Regions from separate parts of the Homo sapiens genome. Here region 2 is linked to region 1. The links are contacts of gene promoters, found by promoter capture Hi-C in human tissues and cell types (Jung and others, 2019). All regions are on one chromosome and are shown on one strand. The core of a region is centred on a gene start or on the middle of the fragment in contact, and the rest is flanking DNA. Distances in the headings are between cores, read along the strand shown.

The links. Contacts are between HindIII fragments. The study calls those that stand out against the background at their distance.
Region 2: a fragment that was not itself captured here is called in contact with the fragment with the promoter of PLCE1 in region 1 in 3 of the 25 tissues and cell types used here (mesenchymal stem cells, mesendoderm cells and thymus).

What each region holds. Positions count from the first base shown.
Region 1 is chr10:93,991,356-93,998,399 of GRCh38, forward strand. PLCE1 (phospholipase C epsilon 1) reads left to right here and starts at 2,576. Exons shown (of 33, transcript NM_016341.4): 1 at 2,576-2,903. It overlaps LOC105378438 (a long non-coding RNA gene), which reads left to right. Exons shown (of 4, transcript XR_946215.2): 4 at 1,865-2,364. RefSeq lists a silencer at 2,390-2,679. The HindIII fragment of the contact is 15,571 bases long and covers 1-4,735 here.
Region 2 is chr10:93,954,065-93,961,108 of GRCh38, forward strand. It overlaps the pseudogene PIPSL. Among named protein-coding and RNA genes, the nearest start is that of PLCE1, 36 kb to the right of the region's middle. The HindIII fragment of the contact is 3,706 bases long and covers 2,471-6,176 here.

The DNA.
Region 1 (7,044 bases), core at 1,326-3,825:
CCACCATGAAGTCAGAGACCACTGCCCCCACCTCCTTTCTGAAAATTACAGGATAGGGGAGGCAGAAAGAAAGAGGGAAGATGGTTCCGTTTCTTAAAATAATTTTACTACTTAAATTCCCTAGTCTCTATGTTTATCATGTATTTAAATCAATTTCCATTGACTGGAGACCAGTATGTAATGTAATAAGCTCAAAAGACATGTGTGTTTTCTTCTGAAATTTCAAACATAGATGCACTTTACTGAAATAAAGTCTCCACAGGATTGTTTCTTGGGGCTGTTGTTGTTGTCTATGCAGAATGGTCTTGTATAAAGAGATGCATAACTTAGTTTACTGAAGCTGAATTTTCCATGGAAATTATCCAGTGCTTTCCCAATTCTCAGGCGCTTTATCTGACAGTCTTTCTTCCTCTAGATAATGGCTGGCAGCAGCCCACAGAGTGGAGGTTATATGGTGCACTTCTGAAAAAGTCTTGAATGGAGCCATTGTTCCCCTGAGATGGTCTGTGTGTTTCACTGAACAGAGAGCAGGGTGTAAAAAAGGCACCTTGTGTGCAACTGTTGGCGAGGTTGGGGAGTGAATTAAAATCTCCAGAAAGTCTGGGCAGTGCTGTTCAGAGGAGCAATGAACACTCTGGAAGTACTGTTAGCTCAGACATTCCAATGTGGTGAGGCAGCCTCGGGGACACGACTTCCCTCCAATCTCGTTTAGAGAGGGAGCCATGGGGCGAGCAAAGGACACTGATCTGGACCTGCTCTCTTTGCAAAGATTTGAGGAAGGCGCCCCTTTCTAGGGATGGGGCCACAGTGATTATCACACTTGGATAACTTTCCTGCTCAACGGACCTAGATTTGCCTTGCTTACTAATCATGCAATGACTCATTTGGAGGATTCAATGTTAACTGCTTGTGCATCTACCAGTTTGTAGCTATCTATTCCCATGTGCCAAATTAAAAAAAAAAAGTCTTTGGGGGTGCCAGGTGATGGATGAAGTTTGATATTATTTGATCATTAAATGAATTATAAAACCATAATATAATACTGTATATTAAATAAATAGCCTACCTTGTTTATTGTCAGTGATGCTACCTCTTTCCTCAGCCCTTTATTTACTTGTTCAGGATAACATAGCCTCAGGGATTGAGTAAATTACCACTTCTCACTGTCCTAGTGCTAAAATGCCAAGATCTTAAGGAACAAAGAATTTCTTTAGAGCCCTCTGCAGAGACCTTTCTGAAATCAGCTCTCCAGGGAGGCAATCATGTTAGTTTTCATTAAAGTCCTAGTGGTGAGAAAACAGCAAGACAGTTTAAGGACCAGACTGGCAGATTTTTCTTAACAGCAGGATTCTTTGGGCCTCCTGTGCTTTCTTGCTCCAACCTCTCCTGTGTTCTGGAGCCTCCAAGAAGGAGAGATCACTTTTAAGAGGGACCCGAAAGAAAGGGTCAAACATGAGCAGGAGGAAAGTGTGTGGGAGGAGATGCTCCAGGTAGAAGGCTCAGCTTAAGTTCAGGTACAGAGCTAGAGTGGGAGAGACATTCTGTTGGGTGATCCTTATTAGCCAGGGCATGCTGGGTTACACAGCCATGGAGAGTTAGTTTGGAGGGCAATAGGGAGCCAGTGAAGTTTTCTGCATAGATTAAAGTTGTAAAAAAGGAAGAATAATACAGCGGTGGTTTGAAGGATTGATTTGGTCCAAGGGAGAGGACAGTGGGAGGCGATATGGGCCACAGGAATGGGTCCTGATCGGATGTAGGAGAAGAGGTCAGGCCTAGGGAACGGTCTTCCATTAGAACAGGTAGAGGGAGGAGGCACAGGTTTAGGCGAAAGGGAGGAGGATGATGATTTGATTTTTTTTTCCAGGTCCTTGGCTCTCCTAAGACTCATAAAAGCCGCTCCAGCGGCTAAGGAAGTTCTGTGCAAAGCCTGTAGTTTCTAGTTGTGAAGATCTTCAGGTTTGCTTGAGCAATGAAAGAGTACTGGATTTGGAGTCCGCAGTCCTGGATGGCCACCATTACCAGCAAAAGGAGTATTTCCGGAGCCTGGCACAACGCTGGGCACATTGATGGGGCTCAATGAATATGTATTAAATGAACGAGTGACAGAACAGATTCGAGACTTGGTGCTGCCATCTACTACAGAGACCTTGATCGTGTCCTTTATCTGCCGTGAACCTCAGTTTCCATATCTGTCAACCAGGGGTGGTTCCCTGGGGTAGTGTGAGAGTAAATTCCCGCCGCCTGAGGTGTGCAGAGTTCCCGCCCTTCCCGGAGCCGGGCGCCCCAGGAGCGCTCTCTCTGGCTCCCGCCAGAAAGGATGGCTCCTAGGGGTCAGGGCCAGGGGTCTGGGAAGGGGTCGCGCCGCCAGCAGCCAGCTCCGGGGGAGGCGGCCGGGTCCTCGCTCCGCGCCCGCCTTCCCCGCGCGGCAGGAGCCGGGGGCGGGCCCGGCACAGGCCGCTCCCCCGCCCGGCCGCCCGCGGTGGCGCTAGCGGCCTCTCACCCGGGGCGGGCGAGTTCTGGGAAAGCCCGGCCCAGGGCGGGGGCCCCGCTGCCGCCCGCGCAGCCGCCGCTGTCCGGGCAGCGCGCACATCTCGGCGGGAGCGGACTGTGAACGGCGCGGGTCCACACGGTAACGCTGGGCAACGTGGGCAACGCGGCGGGCGGCGGGCTCGCGCGGCGGGAGGGGCAGCGGCGGCGCGCCCGGGCTCTACCTCCCGGGCTCTGCCTCCCGGGCTCTGCCTCTCGGGCACTTGCCTGGCTCCTGCGCGTTCCTGGGCATCGGCTCTGCAGCTGACACACAGTAGCGGGGACACCCGACGCCGCTAGCGACAGGCGCGCGGACGGCTGGTCCCAGAGGGACGCTGCGCTTGGGGACGCCGGCGAGACTCGCCAGGAGCCAAGAGGTGAGGAAGCGACTCTGTAGCTCGGTTCCTGAGGACTGGAGAAAGGGAAGGATGGGCTGGTTCTCTCCCAAGGCAGTCGACCCGCCTAAGGGAGCAGCCCGACTCCGCGTACCTGGCGGAAAAGTGTCCTCGCGCTCCCGGGGGACCCGAGGCGGGCGGTCCTCCAGGGCATGCAGGCCGCCCTCGCAGGGGCTAAAGGACACCCTGCCAGTGCCTTCACTCCAGACGCCTGCCTCAGGTCGCCCCTTCGTGTTGTGAATACGGTGTGGAGGTGGCCAGTGCAAAGAAAAACGTAAGCTCTTTTTGTGGCGGTACTTAGCAGCGGTATTTCAAGGAAAGTGCTCAAGAGATTGTTCCTGGAGAGATTTGTGTACATCAAGTCCTAGAAAATACAATATTGGACCAGGTCCCGCTCTAACTGATAACTAGAATAGCTAGCTTTGCCTTCAAGTCCTTTAATGCTACAGTAATAAATACACTAGAGCAAGAAGTCTTCTGTCGTGGCGAATGTTAGGTGCACAGCGTAAATTTGTGGAAGCTTTCGCCCCTCGCTCTGTATTTAAGCCATCAGACACTGAGTTCAGCCGACTTAACCAATTATTCAGTGTAAGACTCATTTAGTGATTAATCAGTGTCATTTTAAATAGTGAGTTCCCTGAATACCTGTTAAGTAGGATTCACGTCTTCGAAAAGTTTTATTTGCACGAAGGTCATAATTTCAGTTGCATTATGCAAAATTTGCCCGTAGGTCTTTTAGATCTCTGCAGGATTGGTATGTTTTCATGTTTCTTATACCCCCCGTAGAGGTAGGGCAGGGCCGCTGCCACAGAATGGGCACTACTGAGGCCAAGAATGCTTGACCCCACTAGGGAGAATTTTTGAGAGCCTGACTTGGGAGGTGGAAGCAGGTGACCCCATAGGTGCTTGTACAGGTGCCCAGTTGTCATTGAGGAGAGAGGTGGACTATCTCTAGGTTATTGTATGCATCGATGTCTTCATAAATACTTTTCTGAAGAATGTCTGATGGTGTTGTCATCTAGACCATCTGATGGCACATCTTCCCCCACATCCACCACTCTAAAGTCTAACCATCCTTCAAACTGTGTTTTGCTGGTGGTGTGAGGCTTTTCCTGAAACAGCCAACCTCCCCCTGCTCTGATTTCTGCAGCATTTTTTCTCCAGGGCCCTTTCTGCTCTCTACCTTCTGGGAGTTATTTATGTAGATGTCTCATTTTCCCTACTGAAGGCATTTGCTGTGGCTTTCATGGCAAAATGCTTGCACCTAGAAGACTCTAGAGATAATTGTGGGCCAGTATTAAATCTTAAGACTTTGGTTTTACAACATAAATATCTACTTTGGAGAAGGAGATAATATAATTGAAAGGAGCTAGAGGAATGTATAATGTTTACCATTAACACTATCCTTTATTTACAGCCCCATGGGGGAAATTCCCTTTATACCCAGGAGCCATGTCTTACCAGGTAAGAAGCCAGATTGAACTGGAGGGACATTCTTCCAGTCCTCTTAGTAACATAAACTCCTGGGATGTGGTCCAAGTTTGACCTGTCATTAAAAATTCCATACTCCAGTGGGTTAGAAGCTAGATTCCAATGAAGGCGGTTGGTTTTGTTTTTCTATTTACAACCATTCTTAGTCACATTCTTCTCTGGGCTTTTGTTGTATACTTTAAAAAAACTGTTTGATGTGCAATTTGTTACCTGTAACTTTCTAAATGAATAAAAGAAGATTGAAAAAATACTGTGCATGGTGGAAGAGTTTTCTAAAGTAGACAGCAGGGGACGTTTCCCATGCCTGGGCAAGAGGAGGGATTTGCACAGAGTGAGGCTTGCTGCACGTGTGTGTGTGTGTGTGTGCGCGCGCGTGTGTGTTCCACACACCTGGCTGACAGGCGCCTATATAGGACAGTTGCTTTAGTCTTAATGCCTTCTCTCTCTGCCGGAACTACTTCTGCGGTGGAAGAACAATAAAACAGAGCTTCTGGGTTCAGAAGGAGAAGCAGAGGAAAAGCCAAAAACAGTAGAAGCAGCTAAGAGTGTGAATTTGTTTGCTGAAGTTGCTTTCCTCCCAACGTTCAGTTGAGATCTGTGGCATTGAGCAAGTAGGGGTTTGGTTGAGGCGAGGGAAGACAGGTGATTAGGAAACATGGTGCTTCTGGAAGAGGGGTGGAAGGTTCTGATAGGGTTTTAGGGAAGCATGTGATTTAGTTATGTAAGGCCCAAAGAGGAGAGTTGGAGATGGAGGAGTAGGGAATGGAGAAAGAGAGGAAGACGATATCAAAGATGCATTTTGTTATAGGCCAACCATGTGGCCTACAAAGAAGGGCAGAACTCTCTCTAGCATCATGTGTTCCTCTCTGCTCCCTGGATGCAGAATGCAGGGTTTTTACCGAGGCTATAATTCATCTGTGTTATGGCTTAAATAGATTTTCGTGGGCCAGATTGGGAACCAAGCCCTCGGAGGCTACATTGTCCAACATGGTAGTCACTAGCCACATATGGCTATTTACATTTGAATTGAAATTAGTTAAATGAAATTAACCACCCATATTTCAAGTGCTTGATAGCTACATGCAGCTAGTGGCTACTGTATTGGACAGTGCAGATATAGAACATTTTCATCATCTCAGAAAATCCTTCCCTAGAGGATTGTTTCAAAGGGGTAATTCCTATTAATCTCCAAAGTGTACTGGTTTCCAAATGAAATTTAGTCATAACTTTAAAGTTTCCAAATTTTACATGAAAATAATAGAAGTTGTTGTTGGTAACACTATGGTGCTTACTACATGCCAGGCACCACTCCAAGAACTTTTATCAATTAACGCATTTAATTTTTATATATTACTCAGTCAATGTGAGAGATCTTATCCTTTAGCTGTATTTCCAAAATCAAAAAAGCTCTAAAAACTGTGATTTTCATAAATTTGGCTACAAAACTTGGTCTGAAGTGACGTGAGGTTATGACAGTCTTTATTTTTCTCACTTGGTGAGAACTACACATATATTTTTACTTCAGAAATTATGGGCATATTTTATTTGCTGCAGATACCATTGAAAGTGTTATGTAAGATATGGCATATGCATTTTTACCATTACAAAATCCATAAAGCTTCTGAATCACAGTTGGCTGGCTGCTCAGAATTTGGATTAGGGAGTGTGGACTTCCATGATTATGCCCATTTTGAAGATGGGAAAACTGAAGCAACGAAAGGTCAAGTGATTTGCATAAAGTCACAGCAAGGAAGTGCCAGTGTCAGGAGCCAGTCAAAGTGGGCTGTCTCCAGAGTCTGTTCTCTTGATCACTGTGCTATCCTACATTAACCTCTGGGCTCATGACCCAAAACAAATAACCATCCTTTTTTTTTTTTTTTTTTTTTTTTTGGTTAGGTGAAACCTAATAGCTTTAACTCAGCTCATTAGAAAGTTTCAGATAGTGATCTGGCTAAATTGTTTAGCAGTTGAGGTTTTGAAATGCCATGGATAGTTCAACCACCGTAATAGACGTGCTTAGCAATTGTTTAGCTTGCCCCTTTCCACCCTGTGTCAGCCACACTTGTTTTTGAGCATTCACTGTGTAAGAACTGGTAGGAAAAGAGGTGGGTACTGGTGAAACCATTGGGCTCATGTTGAAATCTTTGGCATGTGGGGGCTTACATATTCATAACTGTTATGGGGTGGAGGGTGGCCGGTGGTTTGGTCCTAGTATAGATCAACTGTTACAGGCGAGGGCCATTTGGTGGACTACCAGGATTGTAAGCCCTCCTGGCGTGTTTTTGGAGGGTCTGCATCAATCTGACTCAGTCGGAAGTCTTTCTAGGGAAATTGAATTCCTCTTTTCTTGTGGGAGTTCGACTGGAACTGCAAGGCTGGTCTGGGGGCAAGAATGGACATTTCATTTCTCCTCCTCAAGTAGTGGCAAGCCTCAGTGATCTCTTCTTAGATTTTGGTCCAAACCTGCCTTTGAAGAAATTATTGAGTAACCCCAAGGTTTCTCCTTTGAGTAGGAGGAGATGTTCTGGACATTTGACCTTTTGTGTGTAGTTTAGCGTGGCCTCTGCAGGACCCCCTGTCTCTTTGCAGCCAGGGGGCATGTATACCTCTTGCGGCACAGTCTCTGAGGCCC
Region 2 (7,044 bases), core at 3,074-5,573, 36 kb before region 1:
TATCACAGGAGACGACAGCTCCATGCATGTTCCTGTCCCTGAAGGCCTTCCAGTCAGTCAAGATGTGGAGGCGGAAGACAGTGATATAAATGATCCTGACCCTGGTAGGCTAATGTGTGTATTTGTGTCTTAGTTTTTAAGAAAAAAGTTTAAAAGGTAAATAAAATAAAAAATATTAAAAATAGAAAAAAAGCTTACAGAATGTATTAGTCTGTTCTCATGATGCTAATAAAGATAAACCTGCTACTGGGTAATGTATAAAAGAAAGAGGTTTAATTGACTCACAGTTCCACATGGCTGAGGAGGCCTCACAGTCATGGCGGAAGGCGAATGAGGAGCAAAGTCTTGTCTTACATGGGGGTGGCAAGAGAGCTTAGGCAGGGGAACTCCCATGTATAAAATCATCAGACCCCATGAGACTTTTTCACTACCATGAGAACAGTATGGGGGAAACTGCCCCGATGATTCAATTATCTCTACCTCGCCCCGCCCTTGACACGTAGGGATTATTACAATTCAAGGTGAGATTTGGGTGGGAACGCAAAGCTTAACCATATCACAGAATAAAGATATAAAGAAAATATTTTGTACAACTGTACAATGTATTTGTGTTTTAAGCTGTGTGATTACGAGTCAAAAAGTTAATAAAAATAAAAATTTATAAAGTAAAAAACTATAGTAAGCTAAGGTTAATTTATTATTGAAGAAAGGAATTTTTAAAAATAAATTTAGTGTAGCCTAAGTGTACAGTGTTTATAGTTTACTCTAGTGTACAGTCATGTCCTAGGCCTTCACAGTCACTCACCACTCACTCACTGACTCACCCAGAGCAACTTCCACTCCTGCAGGCTCCATTCATAATAAATGCCCTATACAGATGTACCATTTTTTATTGATTATACATATTTTTACTGTACCTTTTCTATACTGAGTATGTTTAGATACACAAACACTTATCATTGTGCTGCAATTGCCTACAGTATTCAGAACATGCTGTACAGGTTTGTAGCTCTGAAGCAATAGGGGCTAGCCTAGGTGTTTGGTAGGCTATACCATCTAGGCTGTGTAAGTAAACTCTACGATGTTCACACAACAATGAAGTCACCTAACAATGTGGTTCTCAGAACACATCCCCGCTGTTAAGCAACGCACGAGTGTACTTTTATTCTCAAATTGCAGAGAAGGAAAGTGAGGTTAGGAGCAGTTAAGGGATATGCAGAGTACAAAACGAGTAGGTGGCAGAGGTTAAACTTGAGTCCAGATCTTCTGAATCAACATCCAATGCTCTTTACCCTTTATCAGAGGTTGTATTTTATAATTTTAATTAGAAAAATATGAAGCACCACTATTAGGGCAGTGAAACTAATATTCATCCATACTGCATAATCTTGTGCCAAAAACAATTCCTAAAGAGAATTTCCAAAACATTTTAAGCAATGGCATCCTCATTAGCATGAGTGTGTGGTCTTCTAAAAAATAAATGAATGGTGTTCCTATATTTCCAGATACGTGGTTGGACTTTAAAGTCTCATTATTTCAATGTCACAACTGGTAAGACTTTAAAATGCTTACTGTATTAGCTTCTATAAAAAAATCATTATGCAGGAAAAAATATTGAAGGAATAAGTGATTTAATAGCTGCAAAAGGGAAAATTGCAAAGAATACCTAATGAATGTTAACATAACATAAAACCAGGCTTGTGGGCTACTTTATTTTTATCTAGGAAAAGAAAAAATGTTAGCATAATACTGATACCTACATGTCTACAGAAGAACTTCATCATACTTGGAGGTTATATGCTAGAATTTCCTCTCATAAATAGAGAAATATGAGAGAGATGTTGTCTAATTCACTTTTCCCCACAGTTGTTGGCTTTGGGTCATTCATTCTGTTATACGTTTCTTGTAGGTGCAGTGACTACATGTATGAAATAAGCCTGCATGAGTGTTATATCAAGATAAAAGGGTCATATATGTGCCATAATTGGTCATCGAATGGCTTGACACTGATGTGTTAGAACAGTTCAACACCAATTGTTAAATATTAGGAAATTTTGTGAGCCAATCATGGAGCATTTACCCAATGGAAGTCAGTAAATACGACACACCAGGGGTTCCCCTCACTCCCACCCAAGCCAGTTTACCAGCACCCTGCTGACTTGAGGTGGGAGGAACAGTGGAGGGAGGTTGCTATTTACCACCTTACAAATGTTGGAAACCACAAATTGAGATTTCTCTGTACCGGCAGAGAATACCAAAGATTATGCCAACGTCTCTGGTTACTTTGGATTTGATTTATAAATAGAATTTTACTAAAGCTGGGACAATAAGGCTGCATTTAAGGGCATTTCTATCTTGCCAAACAAACATTGGGAGCTACAAAAGAAATCCAAAGTGTTCGCAGTGGATCGTTTAATTTACCTTCTGCTTAAAATAATGTATGGTGGCCACTATATTTATATAGTTGGAAAAAAAAGGAAAGTTAAGACTATAGATATATACTTTCTCTTTAAGAAAGAGAAATCATTTTTGACATATATTTTTGGAAAAGCAGGCACTAAACTGATGATCTCTTAGGAGAGTGGAGATGGGATTAATGGGAATGTTTATTCTCTTAATGTCCAAATTTTCTTTGTTGCTTTTTTTTAAAAAGTGGTGTTTAATTTTCTTTTTTCTTTTCTTTCTTTCTTTCTTTCTTTCTTTCTTTCTTTCTTTCTTTCTTTCTTTCTTTCTTTCTTTCTTTCTTTTTTTTGAGACACGGTCTTGGCAAGATCACAGTTCACCACAGCCTCCATCTGCCAGGCTCAAGTGATCCTCCCACCTCAGCCTCCCAAGTAGCTGGGACTACAGGCTCATGCCACGATGTCCAACTATTTTTTTTTACTTTTGGTAGAGATAAGGTCTCACCATGTTGCCCAGGTTGGTTTCAAACTCCTGAGCTCAAGCGATCCTCCAGCCTCAGTCTCCCTAAGTGCTGAGATTACAGGCATGAGCCACTGCACCAGCCAGCATTTAAGATTCTTATAACTAAATAGTACTTTTAAAAGAAAGAAAAGGACCAAATAATATCAGATAAATGTGGTCATACTGACCACTTGGTAATGGCCTGTTCAAGGCTGAAAACTTCTCCAATCGATCATTTCCATTCTTATTCGTCTAGTCTCAACCTATTTTCATTTCTTAATTGACTTGATTTTTCTTCAAAGATTAAATGCATTTGTTTCTTGTTGAACTCAGAATTTTCAGTTATTGTGCTTGTTTCAAAATGCTTTAAAATTAGTTCCTGCATTGTATTGAGAGACATATCAACTGAACTCTAAGGACTGGTGAGGTCTTGCAAGCCCACCACTGCTTTCATTTGTTTGCAAACCCCATGGGACTCCTATTTCCAAGTGCTGGCAGTAGACAGAGCTGGCAAAATTTTGTTCTGACAGACTACTTTATTCTTGTCAAGGAAAGTTTGTCAGTGGAAACTATGTCAGTAGAGGAGCTTCTGGAGAATTCCAGCATCAGGGGCACTGGGTTGTTATTTCTGGCTTGGCTGTAGAATGAACCCTGGGACTATAGGCAAGTCACTTAATCTTTTAAAGTCTCACCTGAAAATAAGAATAATACCATGATTCTGTGACTCAAAGATACACATTTTCCCTGCATTTTATTATTCCTGAAATGGAATGTGTCTAAATAAACTTGCCAGCTTCCAGGCCCAGTATGGATACCCCAGTATGAGATATAAGTAACATTTGTGAATGTAGGTGAACTTGGAGGGCTACATAGAAGGTATCTGCTTATTTGATATCACATGGGATGAGTGATTTGCATTGATAGCAGCACACATGTTTATTTGCATTTCATGTTAAATAAATCAAAATTTACATTTATTCTGATCAAAGCAAATCTTTGTCTCTGGAGGACTGAATAAATATTTTCCTATTAACAAGCAACAGCCTCTAATAACTGTTATTAAATTGTCATCCTCAACTGATGACATATTATAATCAAGGAAAAGGGAAAATAATACCAGCAGGCTAATGTTGAAGATTCAATAAGATTAAGCTCATAAAATGCTTAGCATAGTGCCTGGTGCATAGGACGCACTCAAGAAATATTGTCATCATTGTCATCATCATCATCACCACCATACTTTATAACATATTACTCAACAATTGCTTTCCATAGCCATATTTCATTCACAACCCCTGTGTAAGGAAGGCCGTAAAGTCTGATGCACCCAGAGACATTGGACAAGTCACTTAGTCTGAATAGTGGTTCTCAACTTTTGCTGAATTTCAGAATTACCTTGTGAGCTTTTGAAAAATATCAGTACCTGAGTCCCAGGCCAATTAAATTAGAATCTTTAGGGGTTGGGTCCAAGTATTTGAAATGTTATTAAAGCTTCCTGGTGATTTTAATGTGAATTATTTTATGTTAGTGGTTCTCAACCTTAGCTGCACATGAGAGATCACACAGCTCAGATGAAGCTCATCAGCATTTCAAGGGGTCAGATTTAGGCATCAGGATTTCTTTTCTTTTCTTTTCTTTTCTTTCTTTCTTTCTTTCTTTCTTTCTTTCTTTCTTTCTTTCTTTCTTTCTTTCTTTCTTTTTTTTTTGAAGCAAAGAAGGAAAAAATCTTGCCAAGCTTTATTTAGGCTATAATGATTACAGATAACACACATCTAACCCTATATTCCGTGCTTCCCATGCAGTCCCCTGAGCAGGCTCAGCTACCCTTTCCCTCCAGTCTCACTTCTTGTCTTCCTCCTTCTTGTCCTTCTTGCTGTCCTTGGTGGCCTGGGAGGCCAGGGAGCCCACAGCATTTCGAATGGCTTCATTGTTGGGATCCACACCTGGGAGGTTCTCTAGGACACTCTGAAGGAACTCAGGGTCTTGCATCACGTCGTAATCATCCTCCTCCTTGGCTGGCTCAGATGTGTCCATGGCTGAGCTGGCATCAATGTCTGCTGATTCTGCCAGGCCAAACTCTGCTCCCTGCAGGGACATCTGCATGGCACAAACAATCTTCTCTTCCTCAGTCATACTGCTTAGGTCAGGAAGCCCAGTGTGGCCAAACTCTTGCTGGCTGATGGTCATCTTCAGCAGGGCATCGTCTGAGTCTTCAGTCCCAGTCGTAGCAATCCCGGCCTCAGCAGCAGAAGCTGCAGCTGCCTGCCGGGCCTCCTCCTCCTGCCGCTGCCGCTGCTCTTCCATAAATACACGAAGGACCAAGGCCAGCTCAGGATCAGCACTGGGATCTACTCCAAATTCAAAGTCACTGGCACCAAGACCCATCATGGCACCACCTTCACCAGCCAAAATCGGAAAACTGATGAGAGCATCAGCCAAACTGGGCCCAGGAGGCACTGTCACCAGATGAGAACCGGTTCCATCTTTGCCATTCAACGTGTTTACAAAGGCTGTCAGCTTTTCTGTGTTCACCTCCTCTTCCCCAAAATTGATAATGTCAACATTTACTTTCTCCTTCTTGAGGCATTTAGCCAGTTTCACCAGATTCTTCTCATTGTCCTCCACCGGGTTTCCCACAAAGGCAATGATGCGGATCTTGTGATTGTTGCCTTGTCGGTGCTTCAGAGCCAGATGGGCCACGTGGATGCCCATGCAGAAGGTGATCTTGCCCTTGGGTTGGACAGTATGTAGCTTGGACAGGATACGGCCAGTGTCTGGGGTGAGTGTGGTCAGCACTTCACAGTCATTATCCAGTGTGATAAGGCCCACGTTGTTCTCAGGGTTGCTGCGGGTCTTTGAATGACAAACTGTGTTGACAGCATCCTGCTGGGCCTGCAGCCGGGTGGGTAAGAAGTCTCCATTCCCCATATACTCACTGTTGTCCACACTTGTAGTTAGCATTTGCAAAGTCTCTTCAACTAGAGGTGAGAAACTGGGGTCAGGAGTAGGTGAGCCCTCACTGATTTCCTCCAAAGGTGGAGTCTGAGGTAAAACATCAGGACAACCAAGGTGAACACCTGGCTCCACTTCCGCCTTTGTTGTCACTTGTGCCTTGTGTTCCCCAGAGACCAATGGCTGGTAAGTAATGCAGGAGTTGCCACTGGAGCCTGCTCGCTGAGAGAAAGATGAGCCAGACCGAAGTTTTTTGGAAGGAGAAGGCTTCAAGGGAATCTTCTTAAATACCGTGTTGCACATGAAGCGCTGGAACCATTCAGCATAGAAGCCTGGGCGATGCACTGAGACAGTGTCTCCGTCATGTATCAGGGCTTTCCAAGAGTGCTCCAACTTCTTAACAAACCTGTAAGACTGTAGAATGTCAATGATGCCAATATAAAGCAGAAGCCTTTCCCCTTTACTATTCCGGGCAGGGATGCCACCCATATGGTCATCGGTCTCCATGGTGCCACCCCGTCGAGCCTCTCCCTGGATGGATTCCATGGCTGTGGAATACAGAGCCTTTTGGGGGGCTGGTCTTCGAGTATCAACTGAGTATTGTGTTTCGCTGCTTAAGGGCTCTCGTTGTGCATGATCTATATTATGGATTGACATCAAGAGGCTATAATCCATTATCTTGAAGCTCTGCAGCACCAAACAGTCACGCTGCAGGGTCTTACAGAGAGCGTTGTGCACGTCAGCATCCAAAAAAAGACCATCAGGGATGTCTTGTAAGAAGTCTAGGTCTTTAAATGTGGGAAGAGGCTTCTCTCGCTCTTTCTGGGAAGCCCGCCGCCTGTAGGTTGAGCCTTTGAGGTCATATTTGATATGCATTTTTACCGATCTTGGTAAAAGATTGTTCATCACCACAATCCGAATGTTCTTGCCACCTGTCTGCACACAGTACAGTCCATAGAATTTAGGCAGCAAAGTCCGAGGGTTCTGGTTGAGGTTTATGTAGTATCCTGGAAGCAGCTTCTGCAGAAACTCCGCTTCTTTATGTCGGACTGTCTTAACAATGAACTCATCGTCGCTGGACACATAGAACAGGGAACCACTAGCTCCAGAGCTACAGAGTTCAATCAGCGGCTCACTGCAGAGGGAATACAAGTAATCATCGGGCCGGATACCAAATAGCTCCCAGAA